5 separate regions of the Homo sapiens genome follow, and all the other regions are linked to region 1. Evidence: promoter capture Hi-C in 16 types of primary human blood cells and fetal thymus (Javierre and others, 2016). All regions are on one chromosome and are shown on one strand. The core of a region is centred on a gene start or on the middle of the fragment in contact, and the rest is flanking DNA. Distances in the headings are between cores, read along the strand shown. Region 1 holds the start of MRPL47 (mitochondrial ribosomal protein L47). Region 2 overlaps ZMAT3 (zinc finger matrin-type 3). Region 3 has its middle 58 kb from the start of ZMAT3. Region 4 overlaps ZMAT3 (zinc finger matrin-type 3). Region 5 has its middle 9.6 kb from the start of ZMAT3.

The links. The method cuts DNA at HindIII sites, captures the fragments that hold promoters and counts their contacts. A CHiCAGO score of 5 or more calls a contact.
Region 2: a fragment that was not itself captured here is called in contact with the fragment with the promoter of MRPL47 in region 1 in 1 of 17 cell types (non-activated CD4 T cells); the score reaches 5.1 in non-activated CD4 T cells.
Region 3: a contact is called between a fragment that was not itself captured here and the fragment with the promoter of MRPL47 in region 1, in 7 of 17 cell types (fetal thymus, non-activated CD4 T cells, total CD8 T cells and 4 more). The highest score is 9.4, in fetal thymus.
Region 4: a fragment that was not itself captured here is called in contact with the fragment with the promoter of MRPL47 in region 1 in 3 of 17 cell types (activated CD4 T cells, fetal thymus and non-activated CD4 T cells); the score reaches 6.6 in activated CD4 T cells.
Region 5: a fragment that was not itself captured here is called in contact with the fragment with the promoter of MRPL47 in region 1 in 1 of 17 cell types (activated CD4 T cells); the score reaches 5.3 in activated CD4 T cells.

Annotation. Positions count from the first base shown.
Region 1 is chr3:179,603,326-179,606,025 of GRCh38, forward strand. It overlaps MRPL47 (mitochondrial ribosomal protein L47), which reads right to left and starts at 1,313. Exons shown (of 7, transcript NM_020409.3): 1 at 1,202-1,313. The coding sequence starts at 1,299. NDUFB5 (NADH:ubiquinone oxidoreductase subunit B5) reads left to right here and starts at 1,469. Exons shown (of 6, transcript NM_002492.4): 1 at 1,469-1,614. The coding sequence starts at 1,491. RefSeq lists enhancers at 603-1,469, 1,395-1,594, 1,470-2,336, 1,775-1,934, 1,965-2,054. The HindIII fragment of the contact is 8,643 bases long and covers 1-1,913 here.
Region 2 is chr3:179,062,392-179,065,091 of GRCh38, forward strand. All of the region lies in intron 2 of ZMAT3 (zinc finger matrin-type 3), which reads right to left. Among named protein-coding and RNA genes, the nearest start is that of ZMAT3, 8.1 kb to the right of the region's middle. The HindIII fragment of the contact is 6,023 bases long and covers 1-2,700 here.
Region 3 is chr3:179,012,084-179,014,783 of GRCh38, forward strand. No RefSeq gene overlaps it. Among named protein-coding and RNA genes, the nearest start is that of ZMAT3, 58 kb to the right of the region's middle. The HindIII fragment of the contact is 730 bases long and covers 1,050-1,779 here.
Region 4 is chr3:179,032,228-179,034,927 of GRCh38, forward strand. All of the region lies in intron 2 of ZMAT3 (zinc finger matrin-type 3), which reads right to left. Among named protein-coding and RNA genes, the nearest start is that of ZMAT3, 38 kb to the right of the region's middle. The HindIII fragment of the contact is 8,661 bases long and covers 1-2,700 here.
Region 5 is chr3:179,080,045-179,082,744 of GRCh38, forward strand. No RefSeq gene overlaps it. Among named protein-coding and RNA genes, the nearest start is that of ZMAT3, 9.6 kb to the left of the region's middle. The HindIII fragment of the contact is 2,260 bases long and covers 286-2,545 here.

The DNA of each region.
Region 1 (2,700 bases), core at 63-2,562:
CCAGGAGCTCAAGACCAGCCTGGGCAAGATGGCAAAACCTCATCTTTAACAAAAATACAAAAATTAGCCAGGCATAGTAGCACGTGCCTTATAGTCCCAACTACTCGGGAGGCTGAGGTGGGAGGACGCTTTGAGCCTGGGAGGCAGAGGTTTCAGTGAGCTGAGATCACACCATTGCACTCCAGCCTGGGCGACAGAGTCAGTCCCTGTCTCAAAAAACAAAAACAAAAAAACCTCACAATTTTGCAACATGTATCAGGAGCCTCAAATACTTCCTCCTTTAATTCAGTAATTCTGCATCTAGAAGTTTCAACTGAAAAAATTATTATAGATGGGAATTTATAAATTAAGATGTTTATTAAAGCACTATATAGGATGTCAAGTTTTTAATTATGTAAATACGCAGCTAAGAATGGTTTAAAAATTACTGTGCATCTGGATGATAAATTATTATGCAGTAATTCAAAAATCCTGTTTTTAAAAAATAGTTAACGACCTGAGATGATTTGAAACTAAATAATGAAGTTTATCACAAGTGTTGTATCCCTACCAAAAATATTTAGCCTAAATCTTATAATGAGGAAACAATCAGACAAATCCAAATGAATAAGATTCTTAAAAAGCTAATCTCATCAAAATGTCAACAACATTAAGAAAAAAAAAAAAAAGAAATTGTTCCGGATAGAGACTAAAGAGTCATGGCAACCAATGTAATAAATGGATACTTCACTGGATCCAGGACCAAGAAAAATAAATAAATAAAAGAAGTTACTAAGTTACCAGTTACTTTCATTGTAACACATCCTGTAAATACAAATATCTCTTCTTTTTTAATCCATCCAAACTTGACACAGACTTGAGTATCACAACAAAAACATCTTCGGTAAAGTTTTTCGCACCTCACCCAGCCCAAGAGGATGCTTCTGTACTTATAGATGTATTTACTTCAACAAATGCTGGACATCTACAAACCCCATATACTGTCTTGTCCACAGCAGGCAGCAACAAAATGAGGAAGGAATAGAAATGTCGGAGGTGAGCGACTTCTCCAAGGTCACTCACTCCTCACCAAAGTGGGCTCCGGCTCTGCCATCCAGGCGGCCGTTCCATTCTTGAGTTGTTCTCGGCATCTCGGCATCTCGGCAACCAAACAAGATCCAAAGTTGGAGAGGTGGGCAAACCTACTTTATACATCACTTACCCTGTGCAGGCAGGGACCTGAGGAGTTATTAACGATCGGGAAGATTTCAGGGCGGATGAAACTCTCCTACAAAGAAGGGCCAAACCGGCCGCAGCCATGTTTTCGCATAACTGGCAAAACGCGTTTCCGCCAACGATAGCGTCACTTCCGGCGTCTCAAGCCGGCGGTGAGGAGAATAGAAAACTTGCCCTCACTTAAGATGGCCACATCCTGCCTTTGTCCTCATTGGTAAATTGGCTCTCTCAGCTTCCGTGACCCGCCTCCCTTCTTCCTCCTGCCCGTAGTAGCCATGGCGGCCATGAGTTTGTTGCGGCGGGTTTCGGTTACTGCGGTGGCAGCTCTGTCTGGCCGGCCCCTTGGCACTCGCCTCGGATTTGGGGGCTTCCTCACTCGTGGCTTTCCGAAGGCTGCTGGTGGGTGCTGGCCTAGGGAGAACGGGCGTGAAGCGGGTGCGGGGCGAGAAAAGGGAGGACGCTTCCAGGGTGACCTTGGTGGGATCCGGAGGGAGCCGGGACAAGTTGTGGGCTTGGGGCTTGACAGGAGAGACGGAGCACGAGCTATATGAGGGGTTTTCCTGAAGTAGCCAGATAGATCGTGTTTACATTATTAGCATTTCTAAAACGTTGTTATTCACCATCCCAATTAATGCTAATTTGCGGATGAAGCTGAGTCTAGAAAGGTATAGAGCTGAGATCTGTATCTCTAGGGCACAAGCTTATTGTTGCGTTCCACCTGCCCAAAGGCTAGGTTCTAGTCCCACAGATGCAAAGTCATCTTGCCGAGAAGCCCACCTATGCTAAGGAATATGAAGACAGGTAATATGTAGACAGGTAAAGAGGCTCAGGGCCAACTTATTCTTTAGGCACAGTAAGTACCGTGCCGCCCAATAATGAGATGCAGATGAACTGGGGAGGAAGAGAGGTTTTTGTTTTGTTTTGTTTTGTTTGTTTGTTTTTTGAGACAGAGTCTCACTCTGTTGCCCAGGCTGGAGTGCAGTGGCGCGATCTTGGCTCACTGCAACCTCCGCCTCCTGGGTTCAAGCGATTCTCCTGCCTGAACCCATGATAGTTTTAGGGGTCTACGAAAGTCTTTTAATTTAAATTTCTTTTTTAAAAAAACCATAATGTTTATGAATATGATAACGAATCCAGCCTGTATTATGTTCGTTTTATACCAATGCAGTCATAAAATATTATTTTTAATAACTTAGACGAAGGGGCCCTTGAAGGCAAAAGTGCCTAGGTCTCAGGAAAGTCATAATACAGTCTTTTTTTTTTTTTCTTTTGAGACAGTCTCACTCTGTCACCCAGGCTGGAGTGCAGTGGCACCATCTTGGCTCACTGCAATCTCCACCCCCCGGGTTCAAGCGATTCTCCCGCCTCAGCCTCCCCAGTAGCTGAGGCTACAGGTGCACACCACCACGCCTGGCTAATTTTTGTATATTTAGTAGAGATGGGGTTTCACCATGTTGGCCAGGCTGGTCTCGAACTCCTCACCTC
Region 2 (2,700 bases), core at 182-2,681, 540 kb before region 1:
AGACTTGGGCATAGTTTTTGATTGAGGTGAAAAGGTGATGAAATCCAGAAAACAGGATGAGGAATCAAACTTGGACAAAAGAAAGGGTATCTATCATTTCGAAATAAGAAGAAATGAGGTAGGGGTAGACTAGAGGAGGAGGCAAAAAACTGGCAGGATCACAGAGAGCTTCTGTCCTCTAAAGTGATCAAAGCAAGAGCTAGAAAAGCCTACAGAGCTGGCGATTTCAGAGAGCAGAACAAGAAAACCAACAAGGATTGATTATTGGGTAAATGGACTAAGCTGACAGACGAGTAGTATGGTTGAAAGCATATTTACATTTGAAAATCATTTTATTTTGCCTCATTTGTTGGTTGAATTATTCTTCATGAGAATCTTTTAAGGTAACCTGGTATCTGGATCTAAAAGACTATCTCGGGAGAACAATCAAGGAAAACAAAGTTTTGCTTATTTACACAAGGTCCTACAGCAAGTTACTATCAAGGTAGTAACAACAGTAAGACAGCTGTGTGCCATCTCATTCTGCTCATTTGAGACCCAAACACTTCTAAACAATAGCAACCTATTTCAATCAACCAGCATTTATTAAGATAACATATGCAAGTCTCACAATCCTGCAGAGGAAGTACAATGACCCCTACTTTACAGATATTGAATAAAGAGAGATTCAGTGTCTTGCCTAAAGTAACTGAGCCAAGATCCTAGCCCAAAGTTGTTAGATTCCAAAGCATATATGCCACGTGTAAAGCACATGCATTAAAACCAAATCTGAAGTGTGTTTTGGCCATTCTCAGTCCACTGCAAGTCCATTTGGAAAAAAATCAGATAGGAGAATTTTGAATACATGAAAATTAGCTGAGATTTAATTCAGTGATCCAAACCTGGGTGATCAATATTAAAATGTAAGTGCCAAAATCAGTGCTTTAAATTTTGGGAAAAATCTAATAGCATTCTCTTCATTATGAATTATGAATTAAGACCACTACACTCAGCATCCTAATTCTAAAACTATTCTTTCACCTGTGTTCTCTTTCTCTAATCAATCTAATTCATGGTAGGTTGCTATCTGGCCACTAACTATTACAAATAGAAAGCCATGTTTATGACAAATTTTATAAATGTACTTTGAGTAAGTAGATCTTTTTAAATATATACATGCAAATTAGCAAATAAACTGGTGACTTTAAACTGTGGATGCCTTAGCAAAATTCATCCGTGCTTTTTGCTTTTCTTTATTTCTGTTAATAACCTTCCCTGCTAAAGCAATTCTTCCTCTGGGCATTTATGCTGATGAAACAGTGGTATGTTACCCCATGCCAGCCTTGCCCTAAGTAACCTGAAGCCTGCAGATAGACTTTAATAAAATGAAAATATGTTTCTCCTCCAAAGATTGGATTTTAAATTAAGTTATATCCAAAGCCCTAATTTTAAGAATATAATATTTGATGGCTTCATTAAAAATAAAACAATAGCTAATGATGTTTTGAAGCCAACTGACCAGTTTTTAAAAGTCCTTGGAATAAAACTAAATCTGTGATGACTACAGATACACATGGGTCACTGCTAAGGTAGCCCCAGCTTGGGAACACTGGGATGTCAGGAAAAAATGCTAGTGAGCTTAAAGGGAAGTATTTATTGGGCAGTTTCCACTGCGTGTCCTGGATTACTGGCACATGATACAGTCCGGCTCTAGTGTAACCACCATTGTTTACAATACCCGAGGCAATTTGAAACTCCACGATTTCAACAATGGCATCAACTGACTAAAAAGTTTTGAGTAATGTAATCACAGTGATTTATCACTTCACACAAATGTGTTTCTAGCTCATAAACAGGCTACCCGTGACCCATTTTATCTCACACATAACTGAAATAATGAAGGTACAGCTTGGTAATGCTCTGTATTAAAAATTAGTAAGTTTTTAGTCTTGAAATAAAATTTTACATCCATCATCTCATTTAATCCTAAACCACTTTATTAGTCTACAATCATTGGCATTCTACTTATTCCTGTGCTTGGTAAGCCTTACTCATTGGTCTTATCCTTCTCTTTTTTGTGTGTTTTTTGTTGTTGTCTTTGTTTGCTGGAGTGCAGTGGCATGATTATAGCTCACTGCTGCCTCAATCTCCCAGGCTCAAGTGAGCCTCCTGTCTCAGCCTCACGAGTAGCTGGGACTACAAGTGTCTGCCACTATGCCCAGCTAATTTCCTTGTATTTTTGTAGAGACAGGGTCTTGTTATGCTGTCCATGCTGGTCTTGAACTCCTGAACGCAAACTATCTTCCCGCCTCAGCCTCCCAAAGTGCTAGAATTACAGGTGTGAGGCACCACACCTGGCCTGGTCTTAGCCTTGTCTTCAGTAATCTTTCTTTTATTACTGCTTATTCATGTACACCCTCTGATGCATCTTTTTGGCTAACATTTCTACGCTTTCCTTCTTTGGTAGCTCACCCACTTCTAGAGTTATGTTCACACTCTGTTTATTATTCTGATCTACACTTTGCACTATCCACTCTCATCTTGACCATTTCTATCTTATTGAAATCCAGATTTCACTTCTAAGATTACCTTTCTTCTATGTTACCCTAACATAATTGCTCTGTATTTTTACACATGAACTGCTTTGCCTTAGTTGTCTGTTAAAACCTTCTCTCTTTAAGAGTTACCAATAACATCAGTCTCATTCGAATCTTTGCTTCT
Region 3 (2,700 bases), core at 165-2,664, 590 kb before region 1:
GTGATCCTCCCACCTCAGCCTCCTGAATAGCTGGGACTACAGGCACGTGCCACCATGGCTAGCTAATTATTTTTTTTTTTTCTGTAGAGATGGGCTTTTGCCATATTTCCCAGGCTGATCTCAAACTCCTGGGCTCAAGCGATCCACCCACCTCAGCCTCCTGAAGTGTTGAGATTACAGGCATGAGCCACTGCGCCCAAACATTAATAAGCGAAACGTTCTAAAGTTTCAAGTGGGGGACTAAAGGAAACTAAGAAATGTTTCACTCCAAAATATACTTCTTTGACATATTTTGAGATGACTATTCAGAGGGCCTGCAACACAAGAATCAGCCTGCAAAGCTGAGTCTTTTACGGGGATTTGCATCTCTAGAGGAAATAAAGTGAAGTAAACAACAGATGCAAACAGGCTTTTTCTGAAGCCCCACCTTGTCCAGAACAAGGCAAGATTAACTGAGAGCCTGACACCTTTAAAGGTTTTATAGAAACATCTACCACAGGCTCCCATCTCTTTTTTTTTTTTTTTTTTTTTTTTGAGATGGAGTCTTGCTCTGTCGCCCAGGCTAGAGTGCAGTGGTGTGCTCTCAGCTCACTGCAACCTCCGCCTCCCGGGTTCAAGCTATTCTCCTGCCTCAGCCTCCCAAGTAGCTGGGACTATAAGCACCCGCTACCACACCCAGCTAATTTTGTATTTTTAGTAGAGACGGGGTTTCACCATGTTGTCCAGGCTGGTCTCGAACTCCTGACCTCAGGTGATCCACTTGCCTTGGTCTCCCAAAGTGCTGGGATTACAGGCATGAGCCACCGTACCTGGCCTCCCATTTTTCCTTTCTGAGGGCTGCTACCTGTGAGATCATCTGCATAACAAGACCACCTTTGCAGCACACCTTGCCTCTTCTCTCCTTCCCATAACCTCTCATGCCACCATAACCTGTCTTGACAAGCTTCAAGCCCCTATTCTTTCTGTAACCTCAAGATAGTATTAAAGAGTTGTGAATGGAAAATAAAATTTTGGGACCCCCTATTCACCATACCTAAGGGAAAAAGTCAAGCTTGAGAACTGAGTCACACAAAACTGCCTCCCATTTTGTTCCTCAACAGCTACAAAGATGAAAGACTACCTACATACCTCCCTCGCAATTTGCTCACGAGCAAATTTTTTGTGGGCCCTCAAGATCCTTACCCTAAAACAGTTCTGTTGAATTTCACCCTGACAATAACAAACAATTTATCTTCAGAAGAACGGGACAAAGGATAGAACCAGAAGTCATACCTCTGCTCACCTGAGACAAATGCATATTTGACTGCTTCCTCTATTCTGTTTACTTATCTTATGTAAAAACGTAGATTCACTGAGCATGAGACAAATGCCTCTACCCTCTCCTTTCACATGTAAAATGTGGATCCACTGAACGCTGATGAAATCTTCAAAAGATTGCAACTTCTTGCCTCTTTCATCTACACTTCTTTTCTCTCCTGCCCATGTTTTCCCCTTTAAATATGGAAGCACTCAAAATCCTCTTTGGAAAAAAAGTGTGGGCCACAGATTCTATTGTGGCTAGTGGCTTTTTTTCCTGGGTGTATCATCAACCTTGGCAAAATAACTCTCAGTTGATTGAGATCTGTCTCAGATACTTTTTGGTTTACAGCATCAGCTGTCTGGACATTTGAGTTTTTCATATTTTGTATGACTCCCATGCCCATATGTACATTAATAAATCTGTATGCCTTTTTTCCTGTTAATCCATGGTCAGTTTGTTTTACAGACTCAAATTATCAAAGCTTCAGTGAAAAAAATTAAACTTTTATACACTTTGCATATATAAAATAATTTATAATTTTCCAAGTCTTCAGCTATGTACACCTATGGTCACAGTAGCATTATTCACAATAGCTAAAAGGTAGAAGCAACGTAAGTGTCCATCAGTGGATGAATAAACAAAATGTCATCGATACATGCAATGGGATATTATTCAGCCTTAAAAAGGAAGGAAAGTTGATAAATGCTTGAGGTGATAAGATACCCCAATTACCCTGATTTGATCATTACACATTGAATGTTTGTATCAAAATGACACATGTACCCCATAAATACGTACAATATTATATATCCCTAATTAAAAATAATTTTTAAAAATGAAGGAAATTCTGATACATACTACGACATGGATGAACCTTGAGGACATTATGCCAAGTGAAATACGCCAGACACAAAAGGACAATTGTCATATGATTCCACTTATATGAGGTACCTCAAGTAGTCAAAATCATAGAGACAGAAAGTAGAATGGTGGTTACCAGGGACTGGGGAAGAGAGAATGTGGAGTTATTGTTTAATGAGTAAAATTTCCGTTTGGGAAGATAAAAAATTTCTGGAGATGGAGAGTGATTATGATTGTAAACTAAATGGTTAAAATGGTAAATTTTATATGTTTTGCTATTTTTAAGGGTTTAATTTTTTTAAATTATTATTACATAAATGTCCATCAATAGAGGATCAATAACAGAAATTTTAGAAATCATACAAGGAAACACCACAGAATGAAAAACAATGAAATAGATCCACATGTGCTGGTATGGAATGCTTGCCAAGGTCACACACACACACACACACATACACACACACACACATACCCCAAGGTGATGAACAGAACAGTAGGGATGGAATGCCTCCATTCACGTTACATAGACTTTATCTGGA
Region 4 (2,700 bases), core at 95-2,594, 570 kb before region 1:
TCCTGACCGCGAGTGATCTGCCAGCCTCGGCCTCCCGAGGTGCCGGGATTGCAGACAGAGTCTCGCTCACTCAGTGCTCAATGTTGCCCAGGCTGGACTGCAGTGGCGTGATCTCGGCTTGCTACAACCTCCACCTCCCAGCCGCCTGCCTTGGTCTCCCAAAGTGCCAACAGTGCAGCCTCTGCCCGGCCGCCACCCCGTCTAGGAAGTGAGGAGCGTCTCTGCCTGGCCGCCCATCGTCTGGGATGTGAGGAGCCCCTCTGCCCGGCCGCCCAGTCTGGGAAGTGAGGAGCGCCTCTTCCCGGCCATCATCCCGTCTGGGAAGTGAGGTGCGTCTCTGCCCGGCCACCCATCGTCTGGGATGTGGGGAGCACCTCTGCCCCGCCGCCCCGTCTGAGATGTGAAGAGCACCTCTGCCCGGCCGCGACCCCGTCTGGGAACTGAGGAGTGTGTCTGCCCCACCACCACCCCATCTGGGAGGTGAGGAGCGTCTCTGACCAGCCACCCTGTCTGAGAAGTGAGGAGCCCCTCTGCCCCGCAGCCGCCCCGTCTGGGAAGTGAGGAGCCCCTCCACCCAGCAGCCACCCCATCTGGGAAGTGAGGAGCGTCTCCGCCCGGCAGCCACCCCATCCAGGAGGTGGGGGGCAGCCCCCGCCCGGCCGCTACACCGTCTGGGAGGTGGGGGGGCGTCTCTGCCCGGCCGCCCCGTCTGGGAATTGAGGAGCCTCTCTGCCCGGCCGCCACCCCATCTGGGAGGTGTACCCAACAGCTCATTGAGAACGGGCCACGATGACGATGGCGGTTTTGTCGAATAGAAAAGGGGGAAGTGTGGGGAAAGGAAAGAGAGATCAGATTGTTACTGTGTCTGTGTAGAAAGAAGTAGACATAGGAGACTCCATTTTGTTCTGTACTAAGAAAAATTCTTCTGCCTTGGGCTGCTGTTAATCTATAACCTTACCCCCAACCCCGTGCTCTCTGAAACATGTGCTGTGTCCACTAAGGGTTAAATGGATTAAGGGCGGTGCAAGATGTGCTTTGTTAAACAGATGCTTGAAGGCAGCATACTCGTTAAGAGTCATCACCACTCCCTAATCTCAAGTACCCAGAGACACAAACACTGCGGAAGGCGGAAGGCGGCAGGGCCCTCTGCCTAGGAAAACCAGAGACCTCTGTTCACGTGTTTATCTGCTGACCTTCCCTCCACTATTGTCCTATGACCCTGCCAAATCCCCCTCTCCGAGAAACACCCAAGAATGATCAATAAATACTAAAAAAATTTTAAAAAAAAGGAAAGAAAGAAAAGAAAAGAAAAGAATATGGGATTTTAGGAAAAAAAAAAAAGAAGTATCACATTTTCCAGTGACTTATGTCCTCACCCAACTTCTTGCCATTTATATGCCACAGATAAATATGAATTTCATGACACTCTGATCTAATGTACTTTATAAGTTAGTAATGAAATGGATAATCCAATTATTCTTTTAAAATTGCCCTTACAGAGTATCTTTTTACTTACAAAGGATGTTCATTGCATTTATTCATTTGCTGCTCACAAAAATCTTGTAAGAGGAATTTGTTAATATTGTCCATTTATGACAGCCAAGGAACTGCAATCCAGAGACTGTAAGGAGCTTGCCCCCAGCTCCCTTCTCAAGGGCTAAATAGCACAGCCAAAGCCTGAGACAGGCCTTCCAAATCAAAGAATGGCCCTTTTCCACTACAGCATGATGGCTTCAAGATGCACTAGGAACCTCTACTAACATCAACTTGCCTTTCTCATCACGTTTTATTAGTCACATGATTATATTCCTTGAACTGACACAAACTAGTGGCAAGGGTCAATAGTACAAAAGCATTCTAAATAAGGGTAAAACAGTATATTATTCTTTAAACTGCATTGTAAAACTCAAACCTGCAGGCAAACATTTATTCACCATCTATTTATATGCTAAGCCCTAGAAATAAACTAAGGACTAGCACATAGAGGAGGAGACAGATACCTAAGCAGCTAAATAGAGTAATGAACTAAGATCCATCTTCTCCTCACTTCAATACCCTAAAGGTGCTTTTACCATGGTCACAGTGAACTCCAGAGTCAAATCCAGTGGTCACATATGTGCCTTCATCTTACTGGAACTCAAAGTAGCATGACACAGTTCATTTCCTTCTTGAAACATTCCTCCTACTATCATCTATACTCCTTCTTCCCTCCCCACCTCTCCTCCTCTATCAGACCTCTAAACTCTACAATGTCCAAGGACGCACCCTTAGCCCTCTTTTATTCTCTGACTCTAGGTTATTCTACCCAGACCTATAGCTTTCAAATACCATGAGTAAGTTGGTGACTCCCCAAATCATCAATCTCCATCTTTGACCTTCAGAACCACATATCCAGCTTCCTCCTGGTCATCCATACTTTCACGTCTTAAGAGGCATATCCAACTTAAAACAACTTTTGATTCCTCCTCCATAGAACTTTCTCATCACCACCATCACCACCACCACTAGTCATCCACAGTAGGTAAATGGCACCACCATCCACAAAATTACCCAAGAAAAGCCAAGGGGTCCTTTTCCTGATTCCATCCTTCCCTAAGCCCAACACATTCAACCCATCAGCAAGTCTTGTCATTCAAAATACATCCCACATCACTCCACTTCTCTCCATGGATACTACAAATACCACAGTAATCCAAGGTA
Region 5 (2,700 bases), core at 166-2,665, 520 kb before region 1:
CCTAAAAGATCAGAATGTGAACCTATTAAAAGAGCTACTTGTGAAGACGAACTGCTTGCTCTTTTAGAGACCCTTGCCTCACTGAAACTGCCCTCTGGAGGGGCCCACATGGCATGTGACCTTAGAAGTAGATCGTCCAAGTTCCAGTCAAGCCTTTAGATGGCCGCCTCCTGACTTGACTGCAACCTCATGAGAGACCCTGAATCAGAACCATCCAATTAAATCAGTCCCAGAGACCTAACCACAGAGACCATGTGAGGTAATGAATGTTGTTATAAACTGCTAAGCTTAGGGTAATTTTGGGGTTTTTTGTTTTTTGGTTTTTTTTTGGTGGGGGGTTGTTTGTTTTTTGAGACGGTGTCTCGCTCTGTCACCTAGACTGGAGTGCGATGGAGCGATCTCGGCTCACTGCAACCTCCATCTCTGCCTCAGCAGAGGCAATTCCTCTGCCTCAGCCTCCCCAGTAGCTGGGATTACAGGCACCCGCCACCACTTCCAGCTAATTTTTTTGTATTTTTATTAGAGACAGGGTTTCACCATGTTGGCCAGACTGGTCTTGAACTCCTGACCTCGGGCAATCCACCCATCTCGGCCTCCCAAAGTGCTGGGATTACAGGCGTGAGCCACTGTGCCCAGCCAGCTTGGGGTAATTTTTTAGGCGGAGATTAATATAAGTCCCCCTACCTTTTTGTGACTCTTTAAACTATGTATACAGATTACTTCGTTAAAAATGTGTATCTCTCATTCCTAGTTTTTTGTTTGTTTTATTTTTACTTTCCTTGCTTAGTATTTGTTGTTTATACTTCTTGATTAACTTTAGAATCACATTGTCAAATTCCTCAACTTCCATTGCGATTTCAATTGAATTTTGTCAAATCTATACATACATTTGTGGATAAGTTAAAATTTTACACTATTCTCTTTCCTACCACTGTACAATGATTGAAGACTTTCATGCTCTTCACTAACATTTTGTGATTTTCTTCATTGTATGTACAATATTTAATGAAATTCTAAAAAAAAAAGCATTTTCTTTTATGTAATATTTCTGGCATAGAGAAAAATTACCAAAGTCTTGAATTATATTCAAGTGTTTAAAATACTTTATTGTCTACTTGTACTATTGCTAAAATTCTACACTCTTCCTTGTGGACAGGTCTATCAATATACAAGAGAGAAAATGAATATTTTTAATACAATAGCAATCACATTTCTTTTCTGTATCCTGTGAGTTATATGATTATCCAATTTAGGTCTTATGATCTGAAAGCAGTAGAAATAATTAGCAACTTTCCTAAAAACTGTATTCCTTTTCTGATCCAATATTCTTTTCCCTCTCTCAACCTACACAACTTCTCTGCTACTTCTAAAATTACTAGAGTTAACTTTTGTTTTAATTCTGTGTCTCTTATTCAAATTGGTTAGCTTTCATTGTTGCTTTGCCATTGACATCGCTAGTGTGAACTTAATTTTGTATACCCATTATGACAAAGAAAATCAAACCATATTTCCCTTTGACCTTTTACGCTTGCAGTCACAATACTATTTTGAGGAAATGCTTGTTCATTATGCATACATACATTCTTATCTGCATCATTTTGTGTATGTGTTTATCAGTGCTGTCCAACAACGAGAAGAATGATACATTTATTTAATGTTGGAATGTAAGGATACTACAGTAAGAGCCTACTATGCCAGGCACTATACCCTAGCTAGGTACTCTAGCCAGGGCTTTTATACCCTAGCTCATATCATCCTCATGTTGACCTAAAGAAAAAAATGATGCAAATTTAATATAAGTAGAGAGTTTAATTGGGGCAAGTTTGAGGATTGCAACCTGGGAGCAGAGATTCATGTTGCCCTGAATATATGTTCCAATTAGCAGCAGTTACAAGTAGGCTTATAAAGCAGAAGAGGCAGTTCCTAAGTTGTTTACCAAGAATTTACATTACAAAACATGAGAGCCAGTGAAGTGGCTCACATCTATAATCTCAGCTACTCGGGAGGCTGAAGTGGCAGAATCCCTTGAGGCCAAGAGTTTGAAAGCAGCCTGGGCAACATAGCAAGACACCATCTCTAAAAAAAAATTTTAAGCTGTTGTTTGACTATACATTGTTCTTTGTAACACAAATTCCAGAACATTGAGATAGTGAGTGAGGCAGCTAGTCAGGAACAAATGCCTTTAAATAACTGCCCCAGGCACAAGGGGGTTAGCGCATGAATGACTGAAGTCCCATATTCATGTTGTTCTTGGCCTAATAAGTTTTGTACACCTTGCATAGCTCAGACTGCTCTGAGATATTTTTCTTTTCTCAGTCACAATAATTCCAGTGAGGTAGATATTATTTTACTTATTTTAGAGATGATTCTGAAATGTTAGGTTACCGTTCAAAGTTATTCAGCTTACATCTCCCTGTACCTTTGTTTCTACTAGATCAGAGCTTCTCAGACTTGAACATGCATGCGAATCACCTGGCAATCTTTTTAAAGTACAGATAATGTCTCAGTAGTCTGACGTTGGGATTGTGATTCTGCATTTCTAACAAGCTTCCAGGTGATGTCACACTTTGAGTAGCAAAGCATAGATCACAGTGAATTTAAGGCAATGTGACTCATTGGAAGGATTACAAACTTTGGAATTTGAGCATCTGAATTCAAATTTGAATGCAGGTACTTAAGGCCTTCTGACTTAGCATGGAA